Regions from separate parts of the Homo sapiens genome. Here all the other regions are linked to region 3. The links are contacts of gene promoters, found by promoter capture Hi-C in blood cells and fetal thymus (Javierre and others, 2016). All regions are on one chromosome and are shown on one strand. The core of a region is centred on a gene start or on the middle of the fragment in contact, and the rest is flanking DNA. Distances in the headings are between cores, read along the strand shown. Region 1 overlaps AGO3 (argonaute RISC catalytic component 3). Region 2 overlaps AGO1 (argonaute RISC component 1). Region 3 holds the start of TEKT2 (tektin 2). Region 4 overlaps AGO4 (argonaute RISC component 4). Region 5 overlaps AGO1 (argonaute RISC component 1).

Region 1 (2,937 bases), core at 330-2,829, 140 kb before region 3:
TCTGCAATTTATGGGCTGTTTGTCCTTTTAGAATTTTTCACGATCTGGATTTTGCTGGTTCCATCTTTACAATTTAATTTAACATAATCCTTTGAATTTCCTGTAAACTGCTAGTGGATCCAAGGGCTTGATCAAATTCAGGCCATTCTTTTTGAACTTACTACAGTTGGGTTTTTGTCCCTAGCACTTGACTGGAATTGTTTTTATCAAGGTCAGCAAAGACTTAGCTAAACCCAATAGTTCCCAGATCTTCATTTTATTTCATCCACATCTAATGACATTTTCTTCTTGAAACACTGTTTTTCTCCATTTGGTTTTCAGGGTACCACTCTCTCCAGGTCCTCCTCCAACCTTGTTGGCTGTTACTTTTCCAGTTCCTTTGCTGTTTTCATTTCCCTAATTTCTAAATATTGGGAGTATCCTTGGGGTTAGTATTCTGTATCCATGCCACAGTCTGTCTGATCTCTAATCCAGTGGTTTTAAATAACACTTCTATGCTGAGGACACCCACATTTACACCTCCAGCCTGGACCTCTCCTCTGAACTCCACACTCATCTAACTGCTTACTATTCATCTACTTGTAGACACCTCAAATTTAGCATATCCTTAAAATCCTCTTGATTTCCCCTCCAAACTTGCTACTATCACTGAGTCTTTCCTATCTCAGTAAATGACACTTCTGTTCTTTCAGTTGTACAGACCAAAAAACCTTGAGAATGTTTCTCCTCATACCCCACATCTAGTCCATTTAACAATTCCTGTCAGGCCTACCTTCTAAATGTTTTCCACATCCACATCACTCCCCTAACTGTACTACTGTAGTTCTAGCCAACATTATCTTTCACCTAGACAGCCACATAGTCTGCTGACTGGTCTCCCTGCTTGTACCCTTATGTATAATTTTTCATACAGCAGCTGGAGTGATACTTAAAAAAAAATTTAAGTCAGATCATAACACTTTTTCACTCAGAACTCAGAGGGCTGACACTATCTAACTAACTTCAAGACTCACAATAAAGCTACTGTAATCAAGATAATGTGGTATTGGTGAAAGAAACAACTAATGGAACAGAACAGAGAGTCCAGCATGGCAGGTTACCATCCCAATTCTCCTACTTACTAGCTATAAAAATTTTAGGCAAATTATTTCAGTTTTCCTCATCTGTAAAATGATTCCTTCCTTTATAGGGTTGGTATGAAGATTAAATGAGATAATGCATGTAAAAGCACCTAGCAGGCCAGGCTTGGTGGCTCACACCTGTAATCCCAGTATTTTGGGAGGCCAAGGTGGGCAGATCAGTTGTTCTCAGGAGTTCAGGACGAGCCTGGGCAACATGGTGAAACCCTGTCTCTACCAGAAATACAAAAACTTAGCCCTGCATGGTGTAAAATAAAAGCACTTAGCACATTGCCTGAGACATAGTCAGAACTTGATAAATTTTAGAATTTGTGGATTTTCTAAGTTGATCTTGACAAGTTTCATAAGAAAGAGGCAGATCAAGTATTATTTTCATTTTTTAGATCAGGAAACAAATTCAGGGACAGTATTTGGTGACAGTCAAATGATTAGATAATTGGCAGAGCCAGTACTAAGGGCTAGTACGGAATTTGTACAGTATTACTTATCTCAGGCTAGGATAGGAAAGATTATGCCCTCTGAAGAGATTTTTAAAAAAACACAAAGCGGAATTTAAAAACAAATGATTCAGGCAGCATTTTAGTCTCTTTTCATCTACACTGAATAAAAGTTATTGTTAGCCCAATTTTTTATTCCTGATACAAACTCATTCTTTTGATATATTGTTGGATTTAATTTAACATTTTGTTAGGATTTTTGCATGTATATTCGTGAATTAGATTAGCTTATGATTTTCCTTTTTTATAGTGTTTTTGTCAGGTTTTAGTACCAGAATTTTTCTGGCATCATAAATTGTATTGGGGTGTGTTTACTTCTTTTCTGTTCTCTGGAAGTGTTTGTATAACATCGGTGTTATTTTTTTCCTTAAATGTTTGGTATAATTCTCTAGTGAAGCCATCTGGATCTGGAATCTTTTTGTATGTATGTGGAAGTATTTTAAATTGTGGATTTAATTTATTTGGAGGACTTTTAAGATTTTTTTAATGTAATTTTTAGTTTATTCAGATAATAGTTTATTAATTTATTGTTTGAATTTTGATTAACAAAGCTGTATTTTGAGCTTCAAAAATTTAGTGCTGGACATCACAGGTTTTCTTTAAATTTTTTTGATTAAAAAATGTAAAATATACAACCATTAAATTTACCATCTTAACCATTTTTGTGTATAGTCAGTAGTGTTCGGTACATTCACAGTGTTGTGCAGCCAATCTGCACAACTCTTTTCATTTTCTATAACTGAAACTATATCCATTTAACAAATCTGCATTTGCTCATATCTCAACTCCCGGTGACCACACGTCTACTTCCTGTTTCTTATGAAATTGACTACTCTAGGTACCTCATGTAAGTGGAATCATATAAATTATATAGTGTTTGTCATTCTGTGACTGGTTTTGTTTTTTTTTTTGAGACGGAGTCTCGCTCTGTCACCCAGGCGGGAGTGCAGTGGCATGATCTCAGCTCACTGCAGCCTCCACCTCCCAGGTTCAAGTGATTCTCCTGCCTCAGCCTCCCAAGTAGCTGGTGGCTACAGGTGCACACAACCACACCCAGGTAATTTTTTTGTATTTTTTTGGTGGAGATGATGTTTCACCATGTTGGCCAGGCTATTCTCGAACTCCTGACCTCAAATGATCCTCCCGCCTTGGCTTCCCAGAGTGTTGGGATTACAGGCGTGCCATGCCCATCTTTTTTTTTTTTTTTTTTGGGACAGAATCTCACTTAGCTGCCCAGGCTGGAGTGCAGTGGCACAATCTCGGCTCACTGCAGCTACTGTCTCCCAGGTTCAAGCAGTTCT
Region 2 (3,143 bases), core at 239-2,738, 170 kb before region 3:
GCCCTACTAGGTTTTCTATGCTTTTACTTAATTGTCTATCGTAGTCTTCTTAATAGCTTTGTGAAGCAGGTCTTAGTAACATTAACAGACGTGGAGAAAATGAGACTTAGTGGAGTTGAATAACTTGCCTGATGTAATACAACTAGATAAAGCTTGGATTTAAATCTAATTGATTCCAAAGTCTATCCTTCTCTACCATACAGTTTTGACCCTCTGTATCTGACATCCACGGCCACAGGCAACTATTGCCTATGATTATTTACTTCTAGCTTTTCCCTTAGCTAGCCTGTTTTCTTATAATCCTGCTGCTTTGCAGGACTGAATTCACCTACTCTCTCTGCACCCATTATGGAACTATATGTCTGCTCTTCTCTGGTGGTCCACAACCTGTCTGCTCTTGGAGCCCAAAGGAGAACTCTCATTAGTCACCTGATCCTGTGTGAAACTAACTTTGGGCATTGTGATTTTAGTGATTTCTCTGTGAACCTTGGTTCTGTGTCTTGGTATTAGGTCTCTTTATACACAGGAACCAGATGAGTGTTGTCTTCTGATGCCAAGCCTCCTGGCCAAGGTTTTATAGGAGCATATTAAGTGAACTGAGCATAAGGCTGCTTTTGACAAGAAGGGCCTGTCATCTCTAATTGTTGAGCATCAGCATATAAAGGGAGACTGAGCCAAAAGTTATATTACAAGTGGCAACTCCTTAGTTCAGAAGGGTATGTGAACTCAAGAGGAACTGTGTATTTCTTTGTTTCCCTCCCCATTTTTTTGTGCCTAGATACTCCACTATGAGCTACTGGCCATTCGTGATGCCTGCATCAAACTGGAAAAGGACTACCAGCCTGGGATCACTTATATTGTGGTGCAGAAACGCCATCACACCCGCCTTTTCTGTGCTGACAAGAATGAGCGAGTGAGTGAGGGACTGAGGCCTCCCATCCCCTCCTTCTGTCTCCCTTATCTTAATAGAGAAGAAGCCCTTGAGATAAAGGCTGGGGATTTAGTCCTTGTCCTATCTATCCTCCCTGGCCCCTTCCCTCCTCCTAGCTCTTGTGGTCCTTCCTCTGCCACCGCCTTCACTAGTGTCCACCTCCTCCCGTCCTTCCCTTATACTTCCTTTCCCTCCTCCTAGCTCCCTGGCCTAGACCCCATATATAGACCAGCTCCTAGAGAAGGGGAAGGGAACTACCATTTATTGAACTCCTCCTATGTGCCAGATACTGTACAAGGCGTCTTCCTCACAGCAACCCTGTGAGGTACGTATTATTATTATCTCCAATTTAACCTCAGAAAGGTTAAACGACTTGCTAAGATCACACAGCTAATAGGACTTGAACACAGGTCTGTGTGACTTTAGAAGCATATTATTTTAAGATTCAGTACCCTCAGGGAATAGCAACTTTGGCTTTGTTCTTGGGATTTTGGTGAAATCAGAGTAGAATTGAGCCAGGGTCCTGGTTAGGGCCAGGCAGGTCTTGGGATCTTGGTTGTGTTTGTCTCTATACAGATTGGGAAGAGTGGTAACATCCCAGCTGGGACCACAGTGGACACCAACATCACCCACCCATTTGAGTTTGACTTCTATCTGTGCAGCCACGCAGGCATCCAGGTAGCTGGGCTTTATCTTGTGGTTCCAATGGGTCAAAGATGAGTTGTTCATTCATATTGCCTCTAGAATGTATCAGTCATCACTGAATGACATCCAAATTAGGATTGCTCTCTTTTCTGTTTGTTCTGTTTTGTTTTGTTTTGAGGCGGAGTCTCACTCTGTCCCCCAGGCTGGAGTGCAGTGGCACAATTTCAGCTAACTGCAACCTCCACCTTCTGGGTTTAAGCAGTCTTCCTGCCTTCCCGCCTCAGCCTCCCAAGTAGCTGGGATTACAAGCATGCGCCACCATGCCCAGCTAATTTTTGTATTTTTAGTAGAGACAGGGTTTCACCATTTTGGCCCTGCTGTTCTTGAACTCCTGACCTCAAGTGATCCACCCACCTTGGCCTCCCAAAGTGCTGGGATTACAGGCATGAGCCACTGTGCCCGGCCAGGACTGCTGTCGTAATAAGCCCTGAGTACACTTGCAGGTTGCTTATAAGAAGAGTGCTTTATGACATTGGTAGTTTTGCATCTGCCTGTTCATGGGTGAATTATCTACCCAGCCATATTCTTAACAGTGATCCTGTTCCCCTATTATCAGCCATCTTCTCTGCCCAGCCTGGGACCCCTCACCTTCCTATCTTCCCAGGGCACCAGCCGACCATCCCATTACTATGTTCTTTGGGATGACAACCGTTTCACAGCAGATGAGCTCCAGATCCTGACGTACCAGCTGTGCCACACTTACGTACGATGCACACGCTCTGTCTCTATCCCAGCACCTGCCTACTATGCCCGCCTGGTGGCTTTCCGGGCACGATACCACCTGGTGGACAAGGAGCATGACAGGTGAGGCCTGGGATCAGGTTGGCCTCCTTTTTGCTTCAGCCTATTGTGCCAGATCTTCTTAACTTTCCTTGGGTAGAAGGAAATGAGTGCTGTCCAATTTGGTGTCATTGGGCTCGTCTGCCCAATCCTGGGTTGGGTTTCTCTCTTAAGTTGGTATGGGAATTGGCATCCCAGGGCTGGGCGAGGGAATTAGCAGCAGCTCTCAGTTCACCAGGAAGGACTTCTTTCATTTTTTCCTTTTCAGTGGAGAGGGGAGCCACATATCGGGGCAGAGCAATGGGCGGGACCCCCAGGCCCTGGCCAAAGCCGTGCAGGTTCACCAGGATACTCTGCGCACCATGTACTTCGCTTGAAGGCAGAACGCTGTTACCTCACTGGATAGAAGAAAGCTTTCCAAGCCCCAGGAGCTGTGCCACCCAAATCCAGAGGAAGCAAGGAGGAGGGAGGTGGGGTAGGGAGGAGTGTAGGATGCCTTGTTTCCTTCTATAGAGGTGGTGTAAGAGTGGGGAACAGGGCCAGCAAGACAGACCACCAGCCAGAAATCTCTGATATCAACCTCATGTCCCCCACCCCTCACCCCATCTTGTCACATCTGGCCCTGACCCCACTGGACCAAAAGGGGCAGCACTGGTGCCCACCATACACACAGGTGTCTCATGTGACTCACAGTGCTAAAGACTCATGCTTGACAGCTTGGTAAGGT
Region 3 (3,084 bases), core at 27-2,526:
GATTATCATCCCTTTATCATTCCTTGTATGACCTTCAAGATGGGCAAAGTTGTTGGGCAAGACAGAATAGAAGAAATGTTGTAAACAACATTAACTATCCATCCATTGCTGGAGGGGACCTGCTGGGGAGTGCACCTGATTTTAATTTTAATTAATTAATCTATTTTTTGAGATGGAGTCTCACTCTGTCACCCAGGCTGGAGTGCAGTGGCACCACCTCAGCTCACTGCAACCTCTGCCTCCAGGCTCAAGTGATTCTCCTGCCTTAGCCTCCCAAGTAGCTGGGATTACAGGCACCTGCCACCACACCTGGCTAATTTTTGTGTTTTTAGTAGAAACAGCGTTTTACCACGTTGGCCAGGCTGGTCTCCAACTCTTGACCTCAGGTGATCCACCTGCCTCAGCCTCCCAAAGTGTTGGTATTACAGGCGTGAGCCACCTTGCCTGGCCAAATTTTGTATTTTTTGTAGAGATGGGGTTTCGCCATGTTGCCCAGGCTGGTCTCCAACTCCTGGACTCAAGCGATCCACCTGGTCTCGGCCTCCCAGAGTGCTGGGATCTCAGGCCTGAGTCGCTGCGCCCAGCCTACTTTTTCTATGTACTGTTCGTTTGCTGGCAACTACTATGTTTCTGAGGCTGACCTCGAAATCCTAGCCTCAAGCGCTCCTCCCGCCTGGGTCTCTGGAGTAGCTGGGATTACAAGCGTGAGCCACTGCACTTGGTTTCGTATTTTCTATCATGTCTATGCATACCTTTATCAAAATAAAATTGTTTAGGCCGGGGCAGTGACACATCTGTAATCCCAGCATTTTGGGAGGTTGTGATGGGTGGATCGCCTGAGGCCAGGAGTTTGAGACCAGCCCGGGCAAAATGGTGAAACCCTGTCTCTACTAAAAATTTTTTTTTTAATTTAGCCAGGTGTGGTGGCACGCGCCTGTGGTCCCAGCTAACTCGGGAGGCTGAAGTGGGAGAATCGCTTCAGTCGGGGAGGTTCAGGCTGCAGTGAGCCGAGACTGAGCCACAGCACTCCAGCCTGGGCGACAGAGCGAGATCCTGTCTGAAAAGACAACAAATGTTCATTTAATTTGTAAATCAAGTGAAAGCGCTGCCCTGATGCCCCCCACCTCTCCCAGGCTCGGCCGGCCGCCCCTCGCCTACCCTAAAGGCCTCCGGGGACGCCGCCCGACGCCGCCGCGGTTGCCAAGCGAAGCGCCCAGGCCGCGTTGGCCGCGGGGGGTTGGGGGGGTAGGGGAGGGGTGGTTGCCTAGCAACCGGTGGTGCCAAACACTGGAGCTCAGAGCGGGGGGCGCGGAGAGCGAAGCGGGAAAGGAGGTAAGGGAGCTAGGGAAGCGGGGGCGCCCCCTTCCTCCGCGCTGGACCGGGGTACTGATCTAAACCAAAGGCGATCATCCTGCGGAGGGGAAGAAAGGGGTTTGACGGGGAACCGGACTGACCCCAGCTCTTCCCACGGGGCTCTCCCTGTCCGGCCTTCCCCTCCAACAGTAGGCGAGGGCGGAGGGGCGGGAGGGCGTGGCGGCTACCAGACGGGGAGGGGGCCGCCCCGGGGGCCGCCCCCCAGCTCCCCAGTGCCAACAGGCACGCGTCCCTGGAGACAGAACAGGGCTCCTGCCCTTAGATCCCCCACGGGGACTGGCCCGCAGCCTGGGGAAGAAAGGAAAGGAAGATCAACAAGGCATGGTTGGCTGGGGGCAGGTGTGGAAAATGCATTAAGGGCAATTTTTTTCTGCCATCCGCCTACCCCCCAGGCATTTGGCACTTCACACACACTTCGAGGCTTCCGGGACTCCATTATTCCTTTTTACCTGCTCCAGGACCTGCAAGGTCCAGGGGTTTGTGTCCGCCTGGGGACGGGAGGGAGGGAAACTTAGTTAATACCTCACACAAAGTTGAGTAAAGCAAGGGCTGTCTCCAAGCAGGCTTCCAGCAGGACAGGGCTCAGAGCAAAATGGACAGGAACAAGTCCTGCGCAGGGGGCGTGTGATCCAGGAGGTCTCCGGAAAGGTCTCCCGCAGCAGTGTTTTCCCTCTGCAGGTGGTGTCTGTGAACAGGCCTAGGGGTTTCTGACCCTTCTGGTTTCTGTGCCATGGCCACGCTGAGCGTCAAGCCAAGTCGGCGCTTCCAGCTGCCCGACTGGCACACTAACAGCTACCTGCTATCCACCAATGCCCAGCTGCAGCGAGATGCTTCCCATCAGATCCGCCAGGAGGCCCGGGTGCTCCGCAACGAGACCAACAACCAGGTTGGGGATGGGAACTCAGCTGGGTGGGCAAAGGGATAGCCCCCAACCCCTTGACACCCTCTCTATCTGGCTCTGTCTCTCTCAGACCATTTGGGATGAACATGACAACAGGACTCGACTGGTGGAGAGGATTGATACTGTCAACCGGTGGAAGGAGATGCTGGACAAGTGTCTGACAGATTTAGATGCCGAGATCGATGCCCTGACACAGGCAGGGATCCAGGACTGGGTGCCCGGGGGCTGCTGCCGAAACCTCCCCTCCTTCCCCACAGCTAGGTTGAGAAGCCCTTGATGGGGGGTCATGAGTGGCATGTCCATCCGAGTCACTGGCCCCCTGCTAAAGTGGGGACAAGCGCTACTTCCCCATGGATGGCCCCACCAGCACCCCCGCCCACTCTTTTCTTTTCTTTTTTTTTCTTTCTTTCTTTTCTTTTTTTTTTTTTTTTTTTTTTTTTGAGACAGCATCTGGATCTGTTGCCCAGGCTGGAGTGCAGTGGTGTGATCGTGGCTCACTGCAACCTCCGCCTCCTGGGCTCAAGCGATTCTCCTGCCTCAGCCTCCTGAGTAAAGTAGCTGGGACTACAGGCGTGCGCCATCACTCCCAGCTAATTTTTGTATTTTTAGTAGAGACGGGGTTTCACCATTTTGGCCAGGCTGTTCTCGAACTCCTGACCTCAAGTGTTCCATCCAACTCGGCCTCCCGAAGTGCTGGGATTACAGATGTGAGCCACCGTGCCCGGCCGCGCCCTCTTTTCTAGATGAAGGAGTCAGCAGAGCAAAACCTGCAGGCCAAGAACCTGCCTCTGGATGTGGCCATTGAGTGC
Region 4 (3,261 bases), core at 118-2,617, 240 kb before region 3:
TCCCATATGTTTTAAAACAGGGGTGTCCAATCTTTTGGCTTCCTTGGACCACATTGGAAGAAGAATTTTCTTGGGCCACACATAAAATACACTAACCATAGCTGATGGGCTAAAAAAAAAAATCACAAACAAATCTCATAATGTTTTAAGAAAGTCTACAAATTTGTTTTTGGTCTTTTTTTTTTTTTTGAGACTGAGTCTCGCTCTGTTACCCAGGCTGGAGTGCAATGGCTCAGTCTCGGCTCACTGCAACCTCTGCCTCCTGGGTTCAAGTGATTCTCCTGCCTCAGCCTCCCGAGTAGCTGGGATTACAGGCACATGCCACCATGCCCAGCTAATTTTTGGATTTTTAGTAGAGATGGAGTTTCACCATGTTGGCCAGGCTGGTCTTGAACTCCTGAGCTCAAGTAATCTGCCTGCCTTGGCCTCCCAAAGTGCTGGGATTACAGGCATGAAAGCCACTGCTCCCGGCCCAAGTTTACAAATGTGTACTGGGCCACATTCAAAGCCATCCTGGGCTGCATGTTGGACAAGCTTGCTTTAAAAGATCTCTAGATTACTTATAATACCTAATACAATGTAAAGGCTTAAATAGTTGTTATACTATATTTTAAAATGTGTATAAGTTTTTACTGTTGAATTATTTTAAATATTTTTCTAGGTTGCTTTAGTACCGAATACAGTGTAAATGCTATGTTTTATTGTTTTTAATTTTTTTCATATTAAAATTAAATTTTTAAACATGTTAACAATTTTCTGTATTTGTGTCAGGTCTTTAAAATTTATATTTTTATTTATTTTTAATTGACATAATAATTATACACATTTATGGGTTACATAGGAATTCTTATACAAATAATGTGCAGTGATCAAATCAGGGTATAATTAGAATATCCAAACCTTTTTAAAGAATATCCACAGTTGGTTGAATTCCTGAATGCAGAACCTGTGGATACCAAGGGCTGACTGTATAATAATTCTGTCATACCAAAAAATCTTCAGGTGTCCTTTTGTAGTTAACCTTTCTCCTTCACTCCCAGCCCTTGGCAACCACTGATATGTATTCTGTTCCTACAGTTTTGCTTTTTCCAGCACATCATATAAATAGAATCATAGCCCTTGAGTCTGGCATTTGAGATTCATCCAAGTTGTGTATATATCAGTAATTTGCCCCTTTTTATTGTGAGTGGTATTTCATAATGTGGATGAGCCACAGTTTGCTTATCCATTTCTGAGTTTAGGGGTATTTGGAGTGTTTCCTGTTTTTTACCCAACTTCCCTTTTCAGCTCCTACTTATAAGGCATGGCTCACCTATTTCCTCCTCATCAGCTTTTCCCAATGCTTCCCATATGCCCTTATGACATTGTGTTACAGTTTATTGTATACACTTTTCATGAAGTCAGGAAGGCAAGTTTATTAGTTCTCTTGATGCCCCTGGCTGTCATCCCCAACATCTGCTGCGGAGCCTAGCAGTCATATGGGTGCTCAAGCAATAACTGGTGAATTGAAAAGGCCTGGATTCCCTTTTCTCCAAGGCATCACCTCTTCAGGCTGTCATATGTAGAACCAGAGAGTTTTTTTTTTTTTTAAGGGTAAAATAAATTTAGAAAATGCTATATACTTTATATCCCTTTTAAAGATTATACATGACTAAATAAAGGTTTTGAGTCATACAGTAGAAAAATACTTTTAACTTTAATTTGATCCCATATTTCTCAGGTTTGTTTCACCATAAAATACCTAAACACATCCTGCAAAGCTAATATTCCTAAAGAACACACTTTGGGGAAAAAAAAATGCTAGAACCAACTAGATTTCTTCTGATCCAGCTAGGAACCCAAGATCACATATGCATTTGATGGAAGGAGATTTTTCTATACTCATAGAGTTATGTATGCATAGGTGTATGATCTTCAGCTTAAGGTAACAATAGTTAAAATGGAGCCAAATAAACTCCCATCAAATTTGTGCCTGTATGCTAAAGAAATGTGTTCATACTGAACTCTGCTGTACAGCAGAAGAGGGTGACCAAATAGCAAGATGTAATTCCTTCCCTTGTAATCCATTTCTGAAGTTCCCCTCTTGCCTTCCTAGAAATTTGATTTTCAAATTTTGTCTGTAGAGTTTTTGCTTGGAATTTTAAAAGGGTAAGAGAACATCACCTAATTTTATAGATGATTAGATTGAGGTATAAAGATAATAAGCTTTGTTCAAGGTATATAGTTGCAAGGCTAGGCCTAGATCTGAAACTGATTTTTTAGTTCCCATTTCAGTGCTTTCTTCCTGATAACCATTTGCCAGTGACTTTTTTTTTATTATTAATAAAGTATTTGTTATTGCCAGATGTGGTAGCTCGCACCTGTAGTCCTAGCACTTTGGGAGGCCAAGGTGGGAGAATTGCTTGAGCCCAGGAGTTTGAGTCCAGCCTGGGCAACAAAATTAGACCCCGTGTCTCAAAAAAAAAAAAAAAAAAAAGCCAGACATGATGGCATGTGTGCCTATAGCCCCCGCTACTCAGGAGGCTGAGGTGAAAGGATTCCTTGAGTCCAGGAGTCCAAGGTTGCAGTGAGCTGTGATCCTCCCAGTGCACTCCAGCCTGGGTGACAGAGTGAGACGCTGTCTCAAAAAAAAAAAAAAAAAAAGTACTAGTTATGTTGAACCTGGTAAACCAGTTTAAAGATTCCTTAATCTTTTACTGAAAATTGTGAATTTTTTTTACTCCAAGTAAGGAATAAAACTTTTTTTCTCAGAAAGTTTATCTATCTTAAATGTTAAATGTTTTTTCCCTTTGTGAACATACCACTGTGTCATCTGTAAATACATAATAATGTTGTAGCCCAAAGCCACGGGTAAAATATTTTTGTCCGTATCCTCCTGAAGAGATCCTGGAACATATTTGTTTGTGAAAATACTATAGGTTAAAATGGTTGGGCTAAGGGAAAGTTACAGAGGATTCAACATCTTGAATGAAAGTGATTTTCAAGACTTAAGAGACATTTACCAACTTGCTCCCAATTAACACACAAAAGAAAAAAATGGCCTGACCACAGTTTGGCACTTTGATGACTAATTACTTTTTTTTGTTTTTTGTAGGTAGGGAAAAGTGGCAATGTACCAGCAGGCACTACAGTGGATAGTACCATCACACATCCATCTGAGTTTGACTTTTACCTCTGTAGTCATGCAGGAATTCAGGTAATTTGGAAGCTGGTTCAGATCTTTGACTTGATAGGGAGATGTTTGCAAATTCAGCAACTAGC
Region 5 (3,240 bases), core at 518-3,017, 180 kb before region 3:
GGCCCAGAACAGATGAAGTAAATGGCAGGATGTTTCTCACACCAGCAGAGGACACTGTCAGCCAACAGAGACAGTGATAGCTGTAGGCTGGGGGCTCAGGAGTTTAGAACCAACCCTAGTCCTGGTGGGTTGCAGGATGGAGCAACCTGTCACCATTGGACAGCTGCCTTAGAAATCTAATTTGTGTATATTGAGTTGTTCAGTATTCAGAAGAGCTCTATATATGGTCCTTTGGTAAATAATAATCTGTGCTACAATTTATTGTTTACTGTGTTCCAGAACTATACTCAGTCCTTTAAGTGCTTTATTTAATCTTGAGGCAACTCTTAGATTGTTACTATTATCCTTCCTTAAAATATGAAGGTCAGGCATGGTGGCTCACTCCTGTAATCCCAGCACTTTGGGAGGCGGAGGTGGGTGGATCACCTGAGGTCAGGAGTTCAAGACCAGCCTGGCCAACATGGCAAAACCCCATCTCTATTAAAAATACAAAATTAGCCGGGCATGGTAGCACATGACTGTAATCCCAGCTACTTGGAACGCTGAGGCAGGAGAATCGCTTGAACCTGGGAGGTGAAGGTTGCAGTAAGCCGAGATCGTGCCATTGCACTTCAGCCTGGGCAAGAAGAGCAAAACTCCCTCTCAAAAATAAACAAATAAATACATAAGTACAAAAATTAGCGAGGCATGGTGGCGGGTGCCTGTAATCCCAGCTACTTGGGAGGCTAAGGCAGGAGAATTGCTTAAACCCGGGAGGCAGATGTCTCTGAGCCGAGATTGTGCCACTGCACTCCAGCCTGGGTAACAGAGCGAGACTCTATCTCAAAAAAATAAATAAATAAATAAAATATGAGACCTGAGCCCAGATCTGGCTCTGGATCACAAGCGGTTGAATTGCCCTTTTTTTTTTTTTTTTGAGACAGGGTCTCACTCTGTCACCCAGGCTGGCGTTCAGTGGCGTGATCTGGGCTCACTGCAACCTCCGCCTCCCGGTTCAAGCGATTCTTGTTCCTCAGCCTCCTGAGTAGCTGGGATTACAGGCGCACGCCACCATGCCTGGCTAATTTTTGTATTTTTAGTAGAGACTGGGTTGGCCAGGCTGGTCTTGAACTCCTGACCTCAAGTGATCTGGCCGCCTTGGCCTCCTAAGGTGCTGGGATTGCAGGCATGAGCCACCATGCCCGGCCTGAATCGCCTTTTACAATGCACACGAATATTTTCTAATTTACCTATCAAATGATACTCAGGAGGAGAATACATGTATGCACAACGGATTTTGCAGTTCCCTTCCCCATGGCTGACAGCCAAGGTATCTTTCCTTATTGTGGGGCTCTGGGTACAGGGTGGACTGTACTCAAGCCAGAGCTACCTGTCCTTCTTGTTTCCTCAGGTCTGTAACATTGTGGCTGGGCAGCGCTGTATTAAAAAGCTGACCGACAACCAGACCTCGACCATGATAAAGGCCACAGCTAGATCCGCTCCAGACAGACAGGAGGAGATCAGTCGCCTGGTCAGTGGGCCTACTCATTTGCTCAGTCATTGGGGCCATTGGTAGCATAAATGTTTTAATGCCCCAGCAGGACCTTCCTTCAGGAGAACCCAAGTCTAGATTTGTTGCCTAGGACTGTATAAGGCTGCTTTTGCTTCTTGACCGTATAGCTACTTTGCTTTCTGTCTCTTTTTCTCTCCTGTATTACTTTGCTGTGTTATTCCCTCACTTCCCTCATCTTCCACTTTCTCTCTCTTTTTAGGACTATTCCGTACCAACCCCAGCTTCTCCTTAGGGTTCTCTCCTTGATACCCAGAGGGTGAGCAGTATTGCCAAGCTCCTGTTCTCCTGAGATTGCTCTCTTTTGTCCTGCAGATGAAGAATGCCAGCTACAACTTAGATCCCTACATCCAGGAATTTGGGATCAAAGTGAAGGATGACATGACGGAGGTGACAGGGCGAGTGCTGCCGGCGCCCATCTTGCAGTACGGCGGCCGGGTGAGCAGGGTCAGGGCCAGACAACATCTCGGGGCATATGGGGGTGGTTGGGTTGTATAGCCAGGGGCTTTTGCTCCCCTACCCACCTGACTCTACTGAGGCTCACCTAGGCGCCCCCTCTACCTATCCCCAGAACCGGGCCATTGCCACACCCAATCAGGGTGTCTGGGACATGCGGGGGAAACAGTTCTACAATGGGATTGAGATCAAAGTCTGGGCCATCGCCTGCTTCGCACCCCAAAAACAGTGTCGAGAAGAGGTGCTCAAGTAAGGAGGGTTCGCTGTAGGGGTGGAAGGGTGGGAAGGACCCTGGAGCTGCCTGCCTTCCTGTAGTCCACAGGGGCTGATATTGATCAGTAATGTGTTCTGTCTTGACTCTGCCTGCATTGTGCTTTCTGGCTCAAACTTCTACCAATTCTTTTTCTATCCATCTGTGATCAGGGGAAGTTAATAAGGAGCCATATCTATGTCAAAGATGATGATTTTAGGGCATGAATCTCCTGAGAGAGGCCTGAATTATTGTTATAATTATTATCATTGGTAATAAATAGTAGTAGTGATGACTGTAATGTTTACGCCAAAATTATACTTAAGTACCTAATTTATATTCTCTTATTTCATCTTTACAGTGAGTAGGTGGTGATATGTCCATTTTCAGGAGACTGAGGCTCAAAAGAGGTTAAGTAACTTGTCCAAAGTTTGCACATCATCAGGAAAGTGTCAGAGTTGGAAGCAAATCAGATCTGAGCTTCAAGACTTGTGTTCCTAATTGGAAACAAAATAGAGCAGCTTGTTTAGCTGGTTGTCAGGGCCTCTGTGCCACCGTAGCTGGGAGTAGATGGCACCAATGAGGAAAGTGTTATAGCCAAATGGTTTAAAGAAACCAGGCAGTAATGGCTTAAGAAGTCAACAACCCCTCACCTGGAGTCTTTTTTTTTTTTTTTTTTTTTTTTAAGACAGAGTCTTGCTCTGTCACCCATGCTGGAGTGCAGTGGCACGATCTTGGCTCACTGCAAGCTCCACCTCCCGGGTTTCACGCCATTCTCCTGCCTCAGCCTCCCGAGTAGCTGGGACCACAGGCGCCCGCCACCACGCCCAGCTAATTTTTTGTATTTTTAGTAGAGATGGGGTTTCAGTGTGTTAGCCAGGATGATCTCGATTTCCTGACCTCGTGATCCTCCTGCTTCGGTCTCCCAAAGTGCTGGGATTATAGGCATGAGCCACTGTGCCCGGCCTTTTTTTTTTTTTAAGTT

The links. Contacts are between HindIII fragments. The CHiCAGO score rates a contact against its expected background, and 5 or more counts as called.
Region 1: a contact is called between a fragment that was not itself captured here and the fragment with the promoter of TEKT2 in region 3, in 1 of 17 cell types (erythroblasts). The highest score is 5.4, in erythroblasts.
Region 2: a fragment that was not itself captured here is called in contact with the fragment with the promoter of TEKT2 in region 3 in 4 of 17 cell types (endothelial precursors, erythroblasts, megakaryocytes and 1 more); the score reaches 6.5 in endothelial precursors.
Region 4: a contact is called between a fragment that was not itself captured here and the fragment with the promoter of TEKT2 in region 3, in 5 of 17 cell types (erythroblasts, megakaryocytes, M2 macrophages and 2 more). The highest score is 10.3, in erythroblasts.
Region 5: a contact is called between a fragment that was not itself captured here and the fragment with the promoter of TEKT2 in region 3, in 3 of 17 cell types (endothelial precursors, megakaryocytes and erythroblasts). The highest score is 6.2, in endothelial precursors.

The regions. Positions count from the first base shown.
Region 1 is chr1:35,940,474-35,943,410 of GRCh38, forward strand. The region is part of intron 1 of AGO3 (argonaute RISC catalytic component 3); the gene reads left to right. Among named protein-coding and RNA genes, the nearest start is that of AGO3, 11 kb to the left of the region's middle. The HindIII fragment of the contact is 8,649 bases long and covers 1-2,937 here.
Region 2 is chr1:35,916,815-35,919,957 of GRCh38, forward strand. AGO1 (argonaute RISC component 1) reads left to right here. Exons shown (of 19, transcript NM_012199.5): 16 at 779-913; 17 at 1,508-1,609; 18 at 2,241-2,440; 19 at 2,685-3,143. The coding sequence ends at 2,793. Among named protein-coding and RNA genes, the nearest start is that of AGO3, 13 kb to the right of the region's middle. The HindIII fragment of the contact is 2,677 bases long and covers 151-2,827 here.
Region 3 is chr1:36,082,818-36,085,901 of GRCh38, forward strand. It overlaps TEKT2 (tektin 2), which reads left to right and starts at 1,277. Exons shown (of 10, transcript NM_014466.3): 1 at 1,277-1,332; 2 at 2,053-2,260; 3 at 2,346-2,471; 4 at 3,019-3,084. The coding sequence starts at 2,105. RefSeq lists an enhancer at 1,847-2,645. The HindIII fragment of the contact is 20,325 bases long and covers 1-3,084 here.
Region 4 is chr1:35,847,063-35,850,323 of GRCh38, forward strand. It overlaps AGO4 (argonaute RISC component 4), which reads left to right. Exons shown (of 18, transcript NM_017629.4): 16 at 3,095-3,196. Among named protein-coding and RNA genes, the nearest start is that of AGO1, 35 kb to the right of the region's middle. RefSeq lists a silencer at 2,355-2,507. The HindIII fragment of the contact is 1,671 bases long and covers 533-2,203 here.
Region 5 is chr1:35,900,084-35,903,323 of GRCh38, forward strand. AGO1 (argonaute RISC component 1) reads left to right here. Exons shown (of 19, transcript NM_012199.5): 9 at 1,391-1,510; 10 at 1,865-1,987; 11 at 2,121-2,254. Among named protein-coding and RNA genes, the nearest start is that of AGO1, 18 kb to the left of the region's middle. The HindIII fragment of the contact is 8,640 bases long and covers 1-3,240 here.